Linked DNA regions of Homo sapiens: regions 1, 2 and 3 are each linked to region 4. Evidence: promoter capture Hi-C in human tissues and cell types (Jung and others, 2019). All regions are on one chromosome and are shown on one strand. The core of a region is centred on a gene start or on the middle of the fragment in contact, and the rest is flanking DNA. Distances in the headings are between cores, read along the strand shown.

The links. The method cuts DNA at HindIII sites, captures the fragments that hold promoters and counts their contacts. A contact is called where the count stands out against the background at its distance.
Region 1: a contact is called between a fragment that was not itself captured here and the fragment with the promoter of TAGLN3 in region 4, in 2 of the 25 tissues and cell types used here (heart left ventricle and mesenchymal stem cells).
Region 2: a contact is called between a fragment that was not itself captured here and the fragment with the promoter of TAGLN3 in region 4, in 1 of the 25 tissues and cell types used here (bladder).
Region 3: a fragment that was not itself captured here is called in contact with the fragment with the promoter of TAGLN3 in region 4 in 1 of the 25 tissues and cell types used here (IMR-90 fibroblasts).

What each region holds. Positions count from the first base shown.
Region 1 is chr3:111,855,384-111,858,240 of GRCh38, forward strand. The region is part of intron 1 of LOC105374040 (a long non-coding RNA gene); the gene reads right to left. It also overlaps a transcript of PHLDB2 not described here. Among named protein-coding and RNA genes, the nearest start is that of PHLDB2, 2.5 kb to the right of the region's middle. The HindIII fragment of the contact is 6,150 bases long and covers 1-2,857 here.
Region 2 is chr3:111,787,150-111,789,999 of GRCh38, forward strand. It overlaps LOC107984087 (a long non-coding RNA gene), which reads right to left. Exons shown (of 4, transcript XR_001740848.2): 3 at 1,742-1,879. It also overlaps a transcript of PHLDB2 not described here. Among named protein-coding and RNA genes, the nearest start is that of PHLDB2, 71 kb to the right of the region's middle. The HindIII fragment of the contact is 3,817 bases long and covers 1-2,850 here.
Region 3 is chr3:111,761,453-111,764,494 of GRCh38, forward strand. It overlaps a transcript of PHLDB2 not described here. Among named protein-coding and RNA genes, the nearest start is that of PLCXD2-AS1, 86 kb to the left of the region's middle. The HindIII fragment of the contact is 9,920 bases long and covers 1-3,042 here.
Region 4 is chr3:111,997,403-112,000,171 of GRCh38, forward strand. TAGLN3 (transgelin 3) reads left to right here and starts at 1,520. Exons shown (of 5, transcript NM_001008272.2): 1 at 1,520-1,712; 2 at 2,019-2,200. The coding sequence starts at 2,021. The HindIII fragment of the contact is 6,637 bases long and covers 1-2,769 here.

The sequences.
Region 1 (2,857 bases), core at 96-2,595, 140 kb before region 4:
AGGTAGAAAGACTCTCTCTTTCTTCCTTCCTTCCTTCCTTTCTTTCTTTCTCTCTCTCCCCCTCCCGCGCTTCCCTCTTTTTCCTTCCTTCCTTCCTCCCTTCTTTGCTTCCTTCCTTCTTTTCTTTCCTTTCTTTCTTCTTTCTTTCCATCACCATTACTAAAAGAAAGTCTGGTAATATAATAATAACAATAACAGTTGCACTTTATTGAGTGCTTTCTATAGATGTTGAGGTCTGCATTTGTCTTTTTTTTTTTTTTTTTTTTTTTTGGCGACAAGGTCTCACTCTGCCACCCAGGCTGGAGTGCAATGGTGCGATCATGGATCACCCAGCCTCGAATTCTCAGGTGATTCTCCCACCTCAGCCTCCTGAGTAGCTGGGACTACAGATGGTGCACCACCATGCCCGGCTAATATTTTTGTATTTTTAGTAGAGACGGGTTTTGCCATGTTGGCCAGGCTGCTCTGGAACTTCTAATCTCAAGCAATCCTGCTACCTCGGCTCCCAAGGTGTTGGGATTACAGGCATGAGCCATTGAGCCTGGACTGAATTTATCTAATTTAAGACTTGCACCTTCAGGGTGGTCTCGTCTATCTTCAGGCTGCTATGGCCTTATGAAAGCTATTGAAAACCACTCTAACTCATCAGGAATGGGAAACTTTGCTGGGTTTAGTCACTTGAAAAAGTCACATTCAATGACTACTTTTTGAGTCCCTTCCATATATAAGTCTTGGAGTATGATTCATACAAATATGAATAAAATGACTCCCTTTGCCTTCTAGGAGCTTGGCTATCCTAAGAGATAGAGATGCTAGCAGATAAAACAAGGCAGTGAAGGGAGGCCAGTGAGGATTACTTTTTGTCTAGTAATTTGGAATTATTCATTATACAGAAATATCCCCTAGTAACATTCATACTTAGAAAAGAGGTAGAAGGTAGCATTAAAGACAATGAACTCAAGAACAAGTGCTCAAATTCTGCCTCTACCAACTTATTACCTGAGTGACAACTGACTTCTCTGTGATTCCTTTTTTACTTATAAAATGGGAGTAGTAACAAACAGTAACTCTCACCGCATCAACTAATATTGTCCTATATTTGGAAGAATACCGGATACGTATACAATAGTAATTATTGCTCTCAATAAATTTAGCTATTTTTTTCTTAGACATAAATATTGGCAATCTAATTATGGCCATTCTAAATGTGCTGTGTTGGTGCACATTCTCCTTAGACCTGAAGGGAGAAAGGTTGTCTCTAAGATGTCTGTGTAGTCAAGTGTATTTCTGGCATTGCTCGAGGCAAGGAAATGTTTGCAACACAGTGCTTTGGGTCAAAGCCATCATTTATTCTTGAGCACCATTTACATGTCCGGTATCCTTGTAGGCACACTAGGGATATAGCACTGGAGAGAACAGGCAAAACTCTCTGCCTGCCTGCCTTACATTCTAGTGAGGAGAGACAGACAATAAACATAATTTAAAAAGTACATTTTACAATATAGTAGAATGTGGTGACTTTGTCAAAAAGTAAATTTAAGTAGTATGGAAAACACATTTTAAACTTTTAAGTAGAGTGGTCAGAGCAGGCCTGAGCAACACGGTGACATTGAACAGGGTCTTGAAGGAAGTGAGGGAGTGAACCATGCAGATACTTGGGAGGAGGGAATTATAGGCAGAGAGGGCAATTAGAACAAAGGCCCTGAGATAGAACGGATTTACCTAGGAATCTAGTCTACGAGGCCACTGTGGCAGGGGCTAAGTGAGTGATAAAGGGGAAGTAGGAGGCTGGGCACAGTGGCTCACACCTGTCATCCCAACACTTAGGGTGGCGGAGGCAGACAGATCGCTTGAGCCCAGGAGTTCAAGAACAGTCTGGGCAATGTGGTGAAACCCCATCTCTGCAAAAAATTCAATATTAGCTGGGCATGGTGGTCTGCACCTGTGGTCCCAGCTATTCAGGAGGCTGAAGTGGGAGGATCACTTGAGCCCAGGAGGTTAAGGCTGCAGTGAGCTATGACTGTGCCATTGCACTCCAACCTGGGTGACAAAGTGAGGCCCTGTCTCAAAAAAAAAAAAAAGAAAAGAAAAGAAAAAAAAATTCCAAGGTAATGGAAATAAAATGATTGTATGTTTATGGGGATGATCCAAAAAAGAGGAGGAAAGAGATGACGTGGGTGAGAAAAGAACATTGCTGGAGCACTTAACTGTTTAACTGTTGGATTGATCAGTGTATGTATGCTTCTGCAGGGCAAAAACTCAGGACAGGGAAAAGAATTCCTCTAAAAAACCCGGCATTCCTAACAAACATATGAAAAAAAGCTCATCATCACTAGTCATTACAGAAATGCAAATCAAAACCACAACGAGATACCATCTCACGCCAGTTAGAATGGCAATCATTAAAAAGTCAGGAAATAACAGACGCTGCAGAGAATGTGGAGAAATGGGAACGCTTTTACACTGTTGGTGGGAGTATAAGTTAGTTCAACCATTGTGGAAGACAGTGTGGCGATTCCTCAGGGATCTAGAACTAGAAATACCATTTGACCCAGCAATCCCATTACTGGGTATATACCCAAAGAATTATAAATCATTCTACTATAAAGACACATACAAACGTATGTTTATTGCAGCACTGTTCACAATAACAAAGACTTGGAACCAACCCAAGTGCCCATCAATGATAGACTGGATGAAGAAAATGTGGCACATATACACCATGGAATACCATGCAGCCATAAAAAAGAATGAATTCATGTCCTTTGCAGGGACGTGGATGATGCTGGAAACCATCATTCTCAGCAAACTAACACAGGAACAGAAAACCAAACACTGCATGTTCTCATCATAAGTG
Region 2 (2,850 bases), core at 337-2,836, 210 kb before region 4:
TTTAACTGCCATAGTGTCAGAGACTGACAGCCTACTTGGCCTTTAGATATCTCAAATATACCCCAAGAGACTCTAGCTTATAATTTCTATCCTCATGCTTTTGCGTTACTGAAGGTGAATGTGTTCCCTGTTTAAAAAGTTTAATAATTTGCCATTTGGGAGTATTTACTGTGTGCTCTATAGCATGCTATTTAATCAGAATTTCTTTAGAGAACAGTTAACTTTAAATCAAATGGAACTTATAAGTGAGATATTCTCCTTTATCTTTGGATATTTTTTTGCACTTGGGTTTCAAATGCTGAAAATGAATGTTCTCTCCATCATAACATTCACAGACCCTTTTCCTGACTTTTCATGGTGTGTGACTGTGGCCTGACACTTGCTACAGATGAGAACCCTTTCAAGCTAGAATTGGAGGGCTCAATCTACTTCTACCATTTTCAAAGACATGGTTGGTAGCTTGGGCTACTCTAGGCTTTCTCTTCTGTGTTCTCTGGGGCTCTGCTTCTGACCTGCCTTTTTCCTCTTTTTCCTTCTGGTCCACTTCACCTCAAAGAGGACACATGGGAGATAGGGGAGGCATTCCACAGCCACGGCCAAGAAGAAAGGACCACCCCGGGGTCGAGTCTCTGGCAGCGTACCCAATCTATTCTGGGGTGAATCCAACCTGATTGCATGTTTCTCTAAAATAGATCACCAAGTTGAAGATACACCAATTTTTTTCTACAGTTTTTAAATAAACTTAGACTTTGTAGTCCGCCAAAATAAACATTAGAGAATAAAGCAGTAAATTTTTCAGTAAATATATTAGAAATAGAGGGTAAGAAATCCTCCAGTCTGGCAAAGACTGGAATGGGAGCATGAATTGGAAACAGGTCAAGACTCCTGGCCATAAATAGTCTTCTCACTTTAACCAAGATGTTTGTCTCATGCATTCTGACCCAAGAAGGTTACTAGTTTCCAGGAGGAGAATTGGTGGGACTTTTCAGCCCTAAATGTGCTTAAAGGACAAAGGAAGGAAACTCAGTCACAGAAACGAGTGGATGGAAAAAACCATTATGCTATTTTTTTTTTAATGTCATTTCAAAGCAGTAATTTGGATAGATGTCATGTTGTTTCCTATGAATGCCATGGGGTTATATCTGGATGACTACCTTCCTATGACCAAAAACTAAGAGTGACATAGTGATAAATTCACCCAGGTCAGAAGTAGAGTCTGGGACTTTTGTGTGTCAGTCTGCTATTTAACACCAAGGCCTTTGTCCTCTAAAGGTAGAAAAGTCCAAGAGGAGAAAGCATGTGTCAATATTATTTTAAATGACATTAATTTGATATTCCCTAAATGAAAAGAAGATCTTTATAAAGACCCTTTGTCTCTTCTCCTGTTTACTTCTCCCATCTATCTACCTTTTATTCTTTCTCTCTAAAAAGAGCCTAAGATGATGCAGTAAGATTGAAATAGCTAAACCTACCACACAGGGATGCTTTAAAGCAAGCTTGTCCAACCTGAAGCCTGCAAGCCTCATGAGGCCCAGGACAGCTTTGAAAGCAGCCCAACACAATTCATAAACTTTCTTAAAACATTAGGAGATTTGTTTTGCAATTTTTTTTCAGCTCATCAGCTATCGTTAGTGTTAGTGTATTTTATGTGTGGCCCAAGACAATTCTTCTTCTTCCAATATGGCCTAGGGAAGACAAAAGATTACACACCCCTGCTTTAAAGAGTAAAAGAATAACTTACGGGAAAGCACCTATCAGACACATAGTAGGTGCTCAGTAAAGGAATAGCTCCATTTTCTTTCCTTGTTGGCAGAGGAAAAACATTGCAAGATCGTGGGTAGAGAAATGAAACGATGAGCGCTATATTATGTTCTTCTCCCTGTTGGAATCATATTGGTGAGAAAGGAATGCCAGGTTCACACATCAAATCCCTGAGTTTTACTTTTCCCAATCGTCACTGCAGGTATTTTTATCAAGGCGATGGAAAAAACAGTGCTCCCCACTCCTGGTCAATCAAAGAGGTCTCTGCTAAACAACAAATTATGCCTGTTGCTCAAGGTTCTATCAGATGCCTGGCATCAGATTAGGAGTTCCTTTGAAGAAAAGACTATAGACTCCAATAGAACTCCTTATTAGTCTGCTTTCTGAGAAGGTGTAATAATATGCTCTCTATGGGAACTACGTAGTCATTTGTTCAACCAACAATTAAGGAGGCACCACTCATAGTTGGTTACATAATTGGCAGATATCTTCCAGTCAGGATTATTTTAGAGGCCATAAAGAACAAAATGGTTTTGCTATAAGTACATTCTCCGTTTAAAAAAAGAAGAAAGATTTAACTGCTCTGACATATATACATGGGAAGCCATGTACTATAGTGAATGAGAGTGCAGATTTTGGATTCAAATGGTTCTCAGTTCAAATTTCTTTATTAATTTTGTGGACTTTGGAAAGTTATTTGACTTTTCTGAAATGCCATTTTCTCACCTGTAAAATAGCAATGGTAATAGCTTACTTTGCAGAGTTGTTCAGAATTACATGAGATAATAATATATATTATGTGCTTAGTTCATATGGTGTCTAACCCTATAAACAGCGACCAACAAATAGCAGTTACCGCCGTGCCAAAATTGGACAAGCTATCATCACCGGGGCTATGTGCCCTGAGTATTTTTGTTTGGCCCTTGTCTTTAGCCAACTGAGCAATACAAAACTGAGTTCCTGAGAAATCTTGGAAACAATGATTCTTTGGTTCTCACCACCCCCATATTGTGAAATCCATGATCTTCACATGGCAGATTCTATCCAACCAAAGCCCCTTCAGAATTTTGGAATGGAATTCTCATACCA
Region 3 (3,042 bases), core at 203-2,702, 240 kb before region 4:
ATCACACAAGATGGGACGTGAACAAATCCTTCATCCTAAAAAGGCAGAAACTCAGAAGAGAATGACTAGGGAGAATGAGTCACTAGCAGCTGTTAAGAATCATAGTTAGATCTCTATTCCTGATTTAACTCTCTGCTTTATCTACCCCAGAGGCCAGTCGTTCTCAAACTTCAGCTGCATTCAGATCACTTCAAGGGCTTGTTAAAACAGGATTGCTGATCTACACACCCAGAATTTCTGATTCAGTACATGTGGGTGGGGCAAGAGAATTTTTAGCTCTAACAAGTTCCCAGGTGATGCTGGTCGGGGATACCACACCATAAGACCCACTGCTTTAGGCAATACCGGTTTCAGAATTGAGCCACAGAGGCCATGACTGGTTTATTTACCTGGAAAACCAGCCCAACATTTTTTTTTAATAGCAGAAAAAGCATACAAATTTATTTAATGTGTATACATAAGAAGAATTACAGAGTAATTACCCCCAGCCTGACATTTCCTTAAAATAGGTGCTTGTATGTTCACCTAAAAGGGGCACTGCTAAAAGAGAGGATGAGGGGTCAGAGGAACACATTTTATCCAAAAAGGGATGCCCCCCCAATCCCATCCGCCACATTCAGCTGAGAACCAGACCAGCGTCTTAGCTATTAGTTCATTGCATGGGTTTTGGTGCCAGACTAGACTTAGATTTGAGATCCAAGTCTACTACCTAAGGTGATAAACTTAAGTCAGTCACTTACTTTTCTAAACTGCAGTACTGGAAGGATAACACAATTGATCTCAGAGGACTGTTGTGAAGTTTAAAGAAGATAATGTTTAGGAAGCTTTAACACAATAGCTCATGTATAGTAAGGCCTCAATAAATGCTAACTATATGTATTATTTAATTATATAACTAGCATTACCATATTATTATTATATAGCCAATATGTGTAATGTTTTGACACTGTCAATAAATTTTGAGGTGTTTATCCCATTTTCAGATATTGGAAACTAAGGCACAGAAGGGTTAAGTACCTTGCCCAAGGGCATCCTAGGGAGCGCTCTGAAGTTATGCCTTGTGATGCCACAATTATCATCATTCTAATCACAGGCCTCTAAGTGTGATCTGATCCAGACCTTCCACCCAGCCCTCCCAAGAACCTGGCCACACTCGTCAGGATTAAAGGAGGAGGTATTATTTCTTCAAGCCCTCCTGGAGTCTCTCTTGGCCTTTTTTGGCTCACATACTGCTGTACGTAGTTTGTGTCTGAAATGGAAAATTTCTGTAACACAATACCCAGCTCTGATCCCCACAGACTCTCAAATAATCTTTCTCTTTTTTTTCTTTTGGTTTGGGTTAAAATATGACTTCATGTGCAAAAAAGAAGCCTCATTTCCCAGCACTCTCAGCAGATTCATAAACATTGCAGACTCAAAGCCCTCTGGTTCCTAAGAGTTCCAAAGAATTAATTCTCCTTTTTTGAAAAAGGAGAGCAATGACTAAGAAGTGAGAAGAGAAATGGAAAGATTAAAACTAGCTGCCTGTTTGGTGCAGGGTATATAGCTCTGAGAGCCCACCCTCTTCTGCACCTGCAAGAATCCTTGCATGTCTCCCAGCACTTCTACAGGCAGCCCCAAGGAAAGGCAGGGAGCCATAGCTGCACTGAGCTTTATGATCCTGCCTGAAAGTGAGTATGTTAGGAAACTGGACAATGCAAATCAAGGATTTTAGGTATTTGATTCATTGACTCCCTAGCATTCTTCTCCCCTGGAGAGTCAACTCTTCACACACTGTTTATGCTGTGTGAACAATACAGTGAATTTCCCTTGAGTGAGTTATTTCTATGACAAGTTACTCTAACATAATAGCGAACTGCAAACTGCACAGGGCTTTGGAGCCCAACTGTTTGACTTTCATTTCCACCTCTACCACTTTCTAGCTGGGTGACCTAGGGCAATTTACTCACACTCTTCATGTTTTAGTTCGCTCATCTGTAAGTGGGACTTGTCATCAACTGTACATTGTGAGATTTTCCTAGGAATAAATTACTTAATAAATTATCAAGTGCTTAGGGCAGTTCCTGATACATAGTAAGCCCCATATGTCTTGCTATTACTATTTATTTTTATTATTATTGTTACTACAACTACTACTCTACTGCAAGGAAAAGAGCAGTGCTATAATCTGAATGTTTGTATCCCCAGAAATTCATGTTTTGAGATCCTAGGTGATGGTATTAGGTTGTAGTATTAGGAGGTGATTCGATCACGAGGACAAAGCCCTTGTGATTAGGATTAGTGCCCTCATAAAAGAGACCCCAGAGCAGGCCAGCCCCTTCTACCACATGATGACACAGTGAGAAGGCACCATTCGTGAACCAGGAAACAGTCCCTCACCAGACACTGAATCTGTTGGTGCCTTGATCTTAGACTTCCCAGTTCCTAGAACTGTGAGGAATGAATTCTGTTTTTTCTAAGCTACCCAGTCTATGATAAATTGTTAAAGCAGCCCGAACAGACGAAGACAAGCAGTTATGGCTATGTTTGCTCAAGAAAATATAATGCCAAAATAGAAAGGAAGCAGTTTGGCCTTCTGGTAATGGTATAACTCTGGATTCAGACAGACCTGCACATGACCTTTGACACCGCTACTCAAGTTGTGTGACCTTTGACAAGCTATGGAACCTCTTTAAATCCACTTTCCCGTTTATAAAATGGAGATAGTAACATTTACCTCATAGGGCTACAGGGAAGATCTGATGAAGTAATGTTTGGGAAGTTCTCAACTGTTGGTCAGCAGCCCAGGAATGGTAGTTATTGTGTGGCAAACTGGTCACATGAACAAAGAAATCCATTAAGTAAGTTTCTCCTAAAAGCACTTACAACCACCCTACTTGATACAACTGACTAAAACAATCCCAACATCTGAGATTCTTACCAAATATACACAGACAGAGTACATGGTAAACTAGCACGGTCCTTTGTATATTTTTCTGTCTCCTGTGTTAAACATGGATTGTTGTTAGGTTGATAAATTGCCTATCACCCCTATTCCCAACC
Region 4 (2,769 bases), core at 270-2,769:
AGCATCAAGACCTGCCTTAGTCAGCCCTTCCCTTGTCTCTTCCTAAACCTACTGCTCTCCTGAATCTCCTAGTTTTCTGTTTTCAGAGGACTGTCTGCCAGGCCTTCAACGACTGACCGCTAAGTCTTTTTCAGGCAAACCACCCACATATCTCCTAAGTAATTAAATTTTCATTAGTCCAGGCATCAGCCGGTAGGAGATTTTTCTCAATACATGTATTATTTGAGGAGTCATTTCCTGCATAGCTTCTAATCAATTTCCCACAGGGACAAAGATCATCATCCCATGTACCCAGAATTGCTTTATTTAATATGCTTGAGTCAATTTATCAATCTGTTTTCAATGCAAGAATTGTATTTTATTCCTCCTCAGTCCAGTAGTTGGCATAAACACTCAGTAAATATCTGTTGAATGAAGAAATGAACCAAACGAAAAAAAATGTGGAATTTTTCTCATGAAAAACACCCAGAGAATTACACAACACCAATGAGACTCAATCTTTACCCACAAATGGCTTACAGTCTAGGAGGACAAACTGCCAAGCCCTTTAGCTGTTATAAAAATGTGGGGCCAACTTAGAGCTAATGGTTTCTCCTGAGTGCTTGTTTGCCCATGAGAAATATTCAGTTACTTCTGACAATATGTCGGTTGTGCCTTCACGGTCCTTACTTCAGATGAAGTCTTTACATTCTATCAAAACCTTTCACTCTAAGAGTTCTTAGTCGTTGAGTTTTGTTTAATTTATAAAACTTGCCGGGCGTGGTGGCTCATGCCTGTAATCCCAGAACTTTGGGAGGCCGAGGCAGTCAGATCACCTGAGGTCAGGAGTTCAAGACCAGCCTGACCAACGTGGCAAAACCCCATCTCCACTAAAAATACAAAAATTAGCCAGGCCTGGTGGCACACACCTGTAATCCTAGCTACCTGGGAGGCTGAGGCAGGAGAATCGCTTGAACCCAGGAGGCAGAGGTTGCAGCCAGCCGAGATTGTGCCACTGCACTCCAGCCTGGGCAACAGAGCGAGACTCTGTCTAAAAATATATAGTAAGAATTATAATAATAATTTATAAAACTTGTTCTTAGTGTCTTTCAGTTAAGAGTAGCATGAAAAAAATACCTCCCTTGAATAAGTCAAACTGAGGCACAACAGTTTCAGGATGGAAGTTTCTGGGTGAAGTTGGGCTGGCAGCTGAACAAGTAAATGATAGCAGCTCTCAGTCCCTCCCCTCCTGTCCTGCCAGACAGTTGTTACCTCAGGGCAGGGGGAAAGTAGCTTGGCTATTCCCGACAGATGGACAGTTGGTAGAACGGACCCTCCCACAGGCCCTCATCCCCTTGTGCAGCTGCTGGCCTCGTAGACAATCGGCTGTCTCCCCAGAAGAGGGAAAGAATTGTGCAGATGAGAAAGAGGCTCTCAGCGGGAGGGAGGCAGGCGGGCTTGATTGACACAGGAGAGGGCTGGCTTTTTGGAGGGCTCTTAGCAACGGCCCTGGTTGAGCCCCCTCAGCCATGAGAAAATCAAATCAATGTGCCATTCTTCCAGGCGCGAGGCAGCAGCGGCTGCAGTTCAACATGAAAGGAGGCTTCCTCCCTGCCTGCTAATTACCTGCTCTTCCCGATCTCATCGTTTCTGCCTTTGCAAAGTGCTACTGAGAAGGGGGAAGAAACGTCCGCCACCCATCCCCCTTGCTGCCTGGGGGTTCAGACTTGATTGTGAGTCCGTGTTATATCATCTGGTCTCATTGATAGGCGGGATAGGGAGGGGGATTCCAGCCCCCCTGGACCGGCCGGAGGTTTATTCTAGAGTTACTGGCGGGTAGCTGTGCTTTTCTTTCCCGTTTGTAGGTGAAACCCCATTGGCTTCATTGGCTCCTTGATTTAAACCACGCCCGGCTTTCTGCCCTCTTTGCTGCTGCTGGGCCAGGTTGCCCAGCCATATCCCAGCCCCGTCTGCAGGGAGCCGGAGGCTGCTGCTGCTGCTATTGTGTGGATGCCGCGCGTGTCTTCTCTTCTTTCCAGAGATGGCTAACAGGGGCCCGAGCTATGGCTTAAGCCGAGAGGTGCAGGAGAAGATCGAGCAGAAGTATGATGCGGACCTGGAGAACAAGCTGGTGGACTGGATCATCCTGCAGTGCGCCGAGGACATAGAGCACCCGCCCCCCGGCAGGGCCCATTTTCAGAAATGGTTAATGGACGGGACGGTAAGGCCGGCAGCGATCTCGGTTGCTGGGGCGGTGGGCAGGGAAACCCTCCAGGGCCCTTTCTTTTAACGTAAGGCTGCGGGAAGAGCTGCTGTTGCCAAGCTCTATGTCTCACCGGGAGGGGATGAGAATGCCTTTATTTCTTCAGGGTTGGAAGATTTGGGCTCCATGCACTATTCCCTAGCTAGCTTGGGGGTTCTCCACTCACCCTAGCATTACATCTCCCTTCTGAGTTGGCAAATTCGAAGCCCTTTTGATTTTTCTAATGAGAATAGAGATAAGTATGTCCTTGTAATTTCCCCAGCCTTCCTGGTGCATCAGCTCTTCTGGGGCCATTTCTTTCCCTAGGGGATCGTGTTGGTTACACAGTAAAACAAAGAAGGGAGGAGGGGGACTAGCCACCTTCACATTCTTGTGGGAGCCATGCACCCTGGAAGTGTTCAGTGTCTGTTTATTGAGTGGATGCGTTCTCATGAAACTGAAAGGAGTCCTTATTTGTTAACTGCATTTCTGACCAAATGCTCGTGTGTGTTTGAGGGTTTGAGGGCCGCAGGCTCTGTGATTCAAAC